Regions from separate parts of the Homo sapiens genome. Here regions 1 and 3 are each linked to region 2. Evidence: promoter capture Hi-C in human tissues and cell types (Jung and others, 2019). All regions are on one chromosome and are shown on one strand. Each heading gives the region's core, a stretch centred on a gene start or on the middle of the fragment in contact. The rest is flanking DNA. Distances are from core to core; before and after follow the strand shown.

Region 1 (2,700 bases), core at 74-2,573, 300 kb after region 2:
GTTTCCCAGGCTGGTCTCAAACTCCTGGGTTCAAGAGATCCTCCCGCCTTGGGCTCCCAAAGTGCTAGGATTACAGGTATGAGCCACTGCACTGGGCCAAAGAATTTTTTTTTTTCTGAATAAATAAACAATGCTTCCTCTGAAGGGAGTTCCAGTGAACACAATTTTCTCCATCTCATTACAATGAGGTTTAGGCCACAGCTATAAGTTCTCTGTTGTCATTCTCTGTATTCACCCCAACACTCCGTAAAGTGTGGGACACACCACGGTGTGGGAAAATAGAGACCCAAGATGAGAAAGGAAAGCAAGTACCTCTGGCCTGGTGTTGTGGGAAGGAAGAAGCACACCTTGAGGGGACAGGCCAGGGGTCCAGGTACTGACCCACACCAAAGCACAGCGTGGTCCCAAGCAGCTGGGAGTGAGGGGACGCACGTAGACAGTGAAGACCCAGGATAGACGGGAAAGGAACTTCTACTTTTCTTTCCTTTTTTTTTTTTTTTTTTTTTTGAGACAGAGTCTTGCTCTGTCGCCCAGGCTAGAGTGCAATGGCGCGATCTCGGCTCATTGCAGCCTTCACCTCCCAGGGTTCAAGCGATTCTCCTGCCTCAGCCTCCAGAGTAGCTAGGATTACAGGCACACGCCACCATGCCTGGCTAATTTTTGTATTTTTAGTAGAGACGAAGTTTCACCATGTTGGCCAGGCTGGTCTCGAACTCCTCACCTCATGATCTGCCCACCTCAGCCACCCAGAGTACTGGGATTACAGACATAAGCCACCGCGCCCAGCTAGAACTTCCACTTTTTCACTGCATGTCAGTGACCGCTGAGCCCCGCAGCGGTGCAAGGGCAGGTGTTGACTTGCGATCTGTATGGTTACTCCTAATTTACAGGTGACGAGATTGAAACTCAGGGACACAGTCTATTTCCTAAGGTCACATGGCTCGGGGCAGAGCCAGGCTTTGAAACCACACCTGCTTTTCCACTGAGTTGCTCTGCCCCTCTTCTCTGTGAGTTTCTTGTAAGGTATTTGTTGTATGACTGCTATCATGAGGCACATTTTATTCACCTGTCGGGAGCTGGTACCATTAGTGTAATATAATCATTCAGTTTGACTCTCATCAGTGTTTTTGCTGCAGCTGCTGCTGCTTTTTCCACACTCTAGTTTTCCAAAACTCAGGTGCAGTGGGGTATTGAGTCTCCTTGTCCATCCAGGCAAGAAAAAAATAATCACTTCAGAATGAGTAGGTAGGAAGGCAGCACAAACAGACATGTAAAAAAATGACTTCACAGCCGGGCACGGTGGCTCACACCTGTAATCCCAGCACTTTGGAAGGCCAAGGCAGGTGGATCAACATGGTGAAACCCCGTCTCTACTAAAAATCCAAAAATTAGCCGAGCATGGTGGTGCATGCCTGTAATCCCAGCTACTCGGGAGGCTGAGGCAGGAGAATCGCTTGAACTGGGGAGGCAGAGGTTGTGGTGAGCCAAGATCGCACCACTGCACTCCAGCCTTGGTGACTCCATCTCCAAAAAAAAAAGAATGACTTCAGAATGCTGTTCTAATCAGGTAGCATTTTGGTAAGGAGAGAAATCAGTATAACTTGTTCCACCAACTCAAAGTGCAGAGTTCCACATAATTGCTGGAGTCTTTATCACCTCCCCACCCAACTTTGTGATTTGCCCCATATGCTAAGGACTTCAGGCGCTGCTCCATCCAGGGGTTTGAATCATATCATGGGGACTCTGCCCCTGTCTCTTCTATACCCTTCATTGCTCCTTGTTGTTATTTGGTTTCATTTTCAGATGAGATCCGGTGTGTTCAGGGTGATATGGCTGTAGACATGGCCTTCTTTTCTTTCTTTCTTTTTTTTTTTTTGAGAGGGAGTTTCACTCTTGGCACGATCTCGGCCCACTGCAACCTCTGCCTCCCGGGTTCAAGCAATTCTCCAGCCTCAGCCTCCCAAGTAGCTGGGATTACAGGTGCCTGCCACCATGCCTGGCTAATTTTTGTATTTTTAGTAGAGACGGGGTTTCACCATGTTGGCCAGTCTGGTCTGGAACTCCTGACCTCAGGTTATCCGCCGGCCTCGGCCTCTCAAAGTGCTGGGATTACAGGTGTGAGCCACCGCGCCTGGCCTGGGCCTTATTTTCAAATCTCTTCTTGCCTTCTGACAGCTAGATGGCCACCGGCAGCTCCAAGCCTACATTTGTTTTTTTTTGTTTTTTTTTTTTTTTGAGACTAAGTTTCGCTCTATTGCCCAGGCTGGAGTGCAAGTGGTGTGATCTCGGCTCACTGCAACCTCCGCCTCCGGGGTTCAAGTGATTCTCATGCCTCAGCCTCCAGAGTAGCTAGGATTACAGGCGCCCGCCACCACACCCATCTAATTTTTGTATTTGTAGTAGAGACAGGGTTTCACCATGTTGGCCAGGCTGGGATTACAGGCTTGAGCCACCGCGCCTGGCCTAATTTTGATTTTTTGAAATATTGTATTATTTTTCTTAATTGCTAAGTTTTTGGCATCCACTTAAATTTTGTGTCTGATTCTCCTCACCCTAGGCTATAACATCATGGCAAGCTTTTATTTAAGAAAAAAAAAATCTTTGCAAGTTTTTTTGTTGTTGTTGTTGTTATTTTTTTTGAGACAGAGTCGAGCTCTGTCGCCCAGGCTGGAGTGCTCGAGTGCAGTGGCGTGATCTCGG
Region 2 (2,700 bases), core at 125-2,624:
TACTTCATAACAAATTCTACAATTCACTAGAATTTTGATTCTTACCATAAAATAAACTGATGTTCTCAACTTTTATATGTTTAGACTCTTCTATTAAGATAATAATTCCAGTAAGAGTTTAACAGAATTTCATTCATTCAACTCTGGCTTCCTCAATTACAAATACTCCCAAACCTTCTTCGCTTTCAAACCCCATTCTCAGTGCCTAGTAACTTCTTTACCACTTTTCACATCACAGCTTCAAGGTGGAGGAAAAGCCCCTACTTCTATTATTTTTCAATATGGCTGCTGGCTGTAACTGAGCAGCAGTGGCCACAATGAGACACCAAAAAGCACTAGGACGGGGGATATTGTCAGTGTTTAGCCAGATGTTCTAGGAATATCTTCCCTATTTTAGAATCTCCATTTTGAACAGCTTTCATGTTAGGTGAGAATCGATACTGTTCTCCCAAACTGTGGCAAACCACTAAAAGGCATTTCATGCAAAAAGACACGTTCCATTTTTGCTTTCCCACGCTTACCAAGTCGTTCGCGACTAGTACTCAACCCTCCCTAACTGCCACAGGATTTGGGCTCGGATTTTCTTAACAAGTTCCACCATGCTTTTTATTATTATTTTGGAAGGGGGAGATTCTGGACGTGACAGAGAACCCAAGAGTGGGGTGGTTGTGTGAAAAGCCAACAGACGTCTCAGAAGAGCCAAGCATTACACTCCAGACTCTAACCAGGCAGTGTGAGGCCTCGGTTCAGCGAGGATCCCTCCAAGTGAGAGGACCCCTCCAAGTGAGAGGACCCCAAGCTTCAAAAAGGGGCGGAGCAAGATCACCAAGGGGGGTCCTCAGAGGCCTCTAATGCGGTAGGACCTCAGGTTCCAGGCTCTCGCCGCACTGCCCCATCCTCCACCGCCGCATTCGCTTCGACTCCCCATTCCACCCACCCCACCCCACCCTACCCTGTCCTTCCCCCACCTCTCAACCACTCCAGTGACAGCTCAAGCGCTTGGCTCCCGCCGCCAAGTCGCAACCCCGCGTATCTCAATAAGCAGCTCTGTGATTGGCCCCTTAGCCTCACAGCGAAACCAACACTTCCCCCAACAGTGGGCCGCCGTCACGCCGATCAACTCTAAGACCCGCCCCCCGGCTTCCTTTCGTGGTACCCGGTCCCAGGAACGCCCTGAAATGAAACCCTTTACTCCGCGCCTCGACCATCCTCGGGCCTGCCAGCCAGATCCGCGCCTCTCTAGCTTCCCTGAGGAAGGCGCTGGCGAGACCCAACCTTTTTCACTTCAAAGCGCTTCTTGCCCGCGCCGCTGTTGGTGCCGCTCGGGGTATCCACATCCATCGCTGCCGCCATTTTGGAAACACACGGTCTGTCGTCCGACCACCGCGCCTGCGCAGCAGCGCACACTTCGCTCCCCCCACCTCCCCGGCACCTCCTCCCGCACCCCACCCCTTACTGGCGCGCGAGGCGGAGGTGGGGGCGGAGCACGTGACCACGCCTCTTAAAGGGGCTGTCGCAGGTCGCCCCACCCGCGAACTGTAGGCCGGGGAGGGGGCGGTGGCCGGAGTGGGTGGGGCGGGGCCGGGCGGGGCCGGGCGGGGCCGAGGCTACGTGAGCTAGCCGGGTGGAAACGTTCGAAAGGGCTCGACGTCGCCGCCTCCTCTGGGAAGCCCCCGGCCGCACTCCGTCAGCTGGGGCGGCGGCTGCTTCCTCCGCCTGAGCCAGACCTGCGCCGCAGTCCTGTCCTGCCTGCCGGGCTCGCCGAGTCGCCGCGCGGCTCCCGGTGCTGGCGTGGGTGGGCGCCCGCGGCCTGCCCCGAAACCCAAGAGTCCTCGCTGGTCTTTCGCAGACTCTGACCCGCTTCCGAGCCAGGCCCAAGGTGCAGTCCCCGTGGGAGGGCTGGGGCCCAGGCACCGTCTGGTCTCCGATTTCTGTTCGGGAACTGCTCAGGGATTCGATGGGGAGAGAGGAGACCCCCGAAGTTCCTCCCTAAGGCCACACTGAGCAGGCCCCCAGCCCTGCCTTTACTCGCCCGCCAAGCCTGGGGGGTGGCCTCTGCGCCCACATAGTCGCAGTCCTAGGACCGCCTTTGGTCGTGGTGCACGGTTTCACCGTAACGTGTGTCAGTCCCCACTCCGCATTCCTCAGTTGTCATCTTTGTAGGGTGATTTCTCCCCGATCTGTGTCCTTTTTCCGCTGCTTGTGCTGTAGTGAAACCGACCCATCTGCAGTCGCTGTATTTCTTGAATTTTTGTGAGGCATTCTTTTTTAACTCTTGTTGCCCAGGCTGGAGTGTAATGGCGCGATTTCGGCCCACTGCAACCTCCGCCTCCAGGATTCAAGCGATTCTCCTGCCTCAGCCTCCCGAGTAGCTGAGATTACAGGCGCCCGCCACCACGCCCGGCTAATTTTTTGTATTTTTAGTAGAAACGGGGTTTCACCACGTTAGCCAGGCTGGTCCCGAACTCCTGACCTCAGGTGATCCGCCTGCCTCGGCCTCCCAAAGTGCTAGAGCCGCTTTTTTTTTTTTTCTTTTTTAATTTTTTTAAAAAATAGAGACAAGGTCTCACTATGTTGCCTAGGCTGGTCTCGAACTCCTGGGCCCAAGTGATCCTCCCACTTCGGCCTCCCAAAGTGCTGGGATCACAGGAGTGAGCCATCCCACCCGACCCAAGCACCTGTACTTTGTCACTCTCCCAT
Region 3 (2,700 bases), core at 184-2,683, 260 kb after region 2:
AGCTCCAGCTACTGGGTCAGTTTGACTTATTACAGATCATAGGTATGGGAGGAAGAAGAGGTTTGAGGAACAAGTGGTTCTCCATCCCAGTGCTCAATTTAGAAAAAGAAAAAAGTAATTTATTGAACTGCAGAGGAGAAGGAGCTTAATTTTTTGACATTTATTTTTATTTTTCTTAGTAACAAGTCATGCAGAACCAGTTATTACTAGTTTGAATTGAGTAAAATATAGTTGCTAACAATAACAAAAGAACAACCCAATTTTAAAAATGGGCAAAAGACTTGAATAGACATTTCTCCAAAGAAGAAATACAAATAGTCAGGAAGCACATGACCAGATGCTCAACATTGCTAATCATTAGGGAAATGCGAATCAAAATCACAATGAAACCACTTGAGGCGCATTAGAATGTCTTTTATTTTAAAAAGAAAAAGAAAGTAAGTGTTGATGAGGATGTGGAGAAATGGGAACACTTGCACATTGTTGATGGGAATGTAACATGGTACAGCCACTATGGCAGTTTCTCAAAAAATTGAAAATAGAACTACCATATGATATGACAATTATTTTTTCCTTTTTTTTTTTTTTTTTTTTTTTTTTTTGAGACAGAGTCTCACTCTGCAGCCCAGGCTAGTATGAGTGGCATGATCTCTGTTTACTGCAACCTCCACCTCCCAGATTCAAGTGATTCTCCTGCCTCAGCCTCCCAAGCTGGGATTACAGGCATGTGCCACCATGCCTGTCTAATTTTTGTATTTTTAGTAGAGATGAGGTTTCACCATGTTGGCCAGGCTGGTCTCGAACTCCTGAGCTTAGGCGATCCTCCTGCCTTGGCCTCCCAAAGTGCTGGGATTACAGGCATAAACCACTGTGCCCGGCCCCTGATCTGGCTTTTTTTTTGTTTGTTTTGTTTTGTTTTGTTTTTGAGATGAAGTCTCACTCTGTCGCCCAGGCTGGAGTGCAATGGTGCAATCTCAGCTCACTGCAAACTCCACCTCCCAGATTCAAGTGATTCTCCTGCCTCAGCCTCCCAAGTAGCTGGGACTACAGGCACCCGCCACCATGCCTAGCTAATTTTTTTTTTTTTGAAATGGAGTCTCACTCTGTCGCCCAGGTTGGGGTGCAGTGGCACAATCTCAGCTCACTGCAAGCTCCACCTCCCAGGTTCACGCCATTCTCCTGCCTCAGCATCCCGAGTAGCTGGAACCACAGGCACCCGCCACCATGCCTGGCTAATTTTTTGTATTTTTAGTAGAGACGGGGTTTCACCGTGTTAGCCAGGATGGTCTCGATCTCCTGACCTCGTGATCTGCCTGCCTCGGCCTCCCAAAGTGCTGGGATTACAGGCCTGAGCCACCGTGCCCGGCCTGATCTGGCAATTCTTATGGGTATATGCTGAAAAGAATGGAAAGCACTGACTCCAACAGATAGTTGTGCAGTCAGGTTCACAATAGCCAAAAGGTAGAAACAACAGATGAATGGATAAACAAAATGTGGTATACACATACAATGGAATATTCATTCATCCTTTAAAAGGAGGAAGATTCTGACACATATGACAACGTGGATGAACCTTGAGGACATTATGCCAAGTGAAATAAGCCAGTCACGAAAGAACAAATTCTGTGTGATTCTACTTATATGAGGTTCCTAGAGCAGTCAAATCCAGAGACAGAAAGTAGCCCGGTGGTTGCTGGGAGTTATGGGGACAGAGGAATGGCCAGTTGGTGTTTAATTGGTATGGAATTTCAGTTTGGGAAGATGGAAAAGTTCTGGAGATAGATGGTGGTGAGAGCTGCGCATTAACGTGAATGTATTTCATGCCACTGAATTGTACACTTGAAATTGTTAAAATAGTAAATTTTATGTTAGGTGTATTTTACCACAATAAAAAAGAGGCCGGGCGTGGTGGCTCTTGCCTGTAATCCCACACTTTGGAAGGCCAAGGTGGGCAGATCACCTGAGGTCAGGAGTTCAAGACCAGCCTGGTCAACAGTGTGAAACCCTGTCTCTACCAAAACTACAAAAATTAGCCAGGCGTAGTGGCGCATGCCTGTGATCCCAGCTACTCAGAAGGCTGAGGCAGGAGAATTGCTTGAACCCTGGAGGCAGAGATTGCAGTGAGCTGAGATTGCACCACTGCACTCCAGCCTGGGCATCAGAGCGAGACTCTGTCTCAAAAATAAATAAAAATAAATAAATAAATAAATAAATAAATATGTATATTAGGCCAGGTACAGTGGGTCACACCTGTAATCCCAGCCCTTTGGGACTCTGAGGTGGGCAGATTGCTTGAGCTCAGGAGTTCAAGACCAGCCTGGGCAACATGGTGGAACCCCGTCTCCACCAAAACAAAACAAAAAATAGCTGGGCATAGTGACATGCACCTGTAGTCCCAGCTACTTGGAAGGCTGAAGTTGGGGGAGGATTGCTTGAGTCCAGGAGGTCGAGGCTGCAGTGAGCTGAGATCACACCGCTGTACTCCAGCCTGGGCAACAGAGCCAGATCTTGTCTCAAAATAAATAGATAAATAAAAATAAGTTAATTAATTAAATGAAAACTGATGATTCAGAAAGGAACAAGCAAACACAAACCCAATGCCAGTTGCCGTGTTTGGTGCTCTTCTTGCTTCTCTTGTGAACAGCAATGTGCGGAAGTGGTTCTGTGGACTCACTTGCAACCTAAACTTTGAGGTCAATG

Evidence for each region. Contacts are between HindIII fragments. The study calls those that stand out against the background at their distance.
Region 1: a contact is called between a fragment that was not itself captured here and the fragment with the promoter of RBX1 in region 2, in 1 of the 25 tissues and cell types used here (hippocampus).
Region 3: a contact is called between a fragment that was not itself captured here and the fragment with the promoter of RBX1 in region 2, in 1 of the 25 tissues and cell types used here (IMR-90 fibroblasts).

The regions. Positions count from the first base shown.
Region 1 is chr22:40,646,785-40,649,484 of GRCh38, reverse strand. No RefSeq gene overlaps it. Among named protein-coding and RNA genes, the nearest start is that of MRTFA, 11 kb to the right of the region's middle. The HindIII fragment of the contact is 3,334 bases long and covers 1-2,700 here.
Region 2 is chr22:40,950,052-40,952,751 of GRCh38, reverse strand. RBX1 (ring-box 1) reads right to left here and starts at 1,374. Exons shown (of 5, transcript NM_014248.4): 1 at 1,276-1,374. The coding sequence starts at 1,353. RefSeq lists enhancers at 54-642, 1,098-1,307, 1,822-2,412 and a silencer at 1,358-1,937. The HindIII fragment of the contact is 18,244 bases long and covers 1-2,700 here.
Region 3 is chr22:40,685,581-40,688,280 of GRCh38, reverse strand. No RefSeq gene overlaps it. Among named protein-coding and RNA genes, the nearest start is that of MCHR1, 7.4 kb to the right of the region's middle. The HindIII fragment of the contact is 4,990 bases long and covers 1-2,700 here.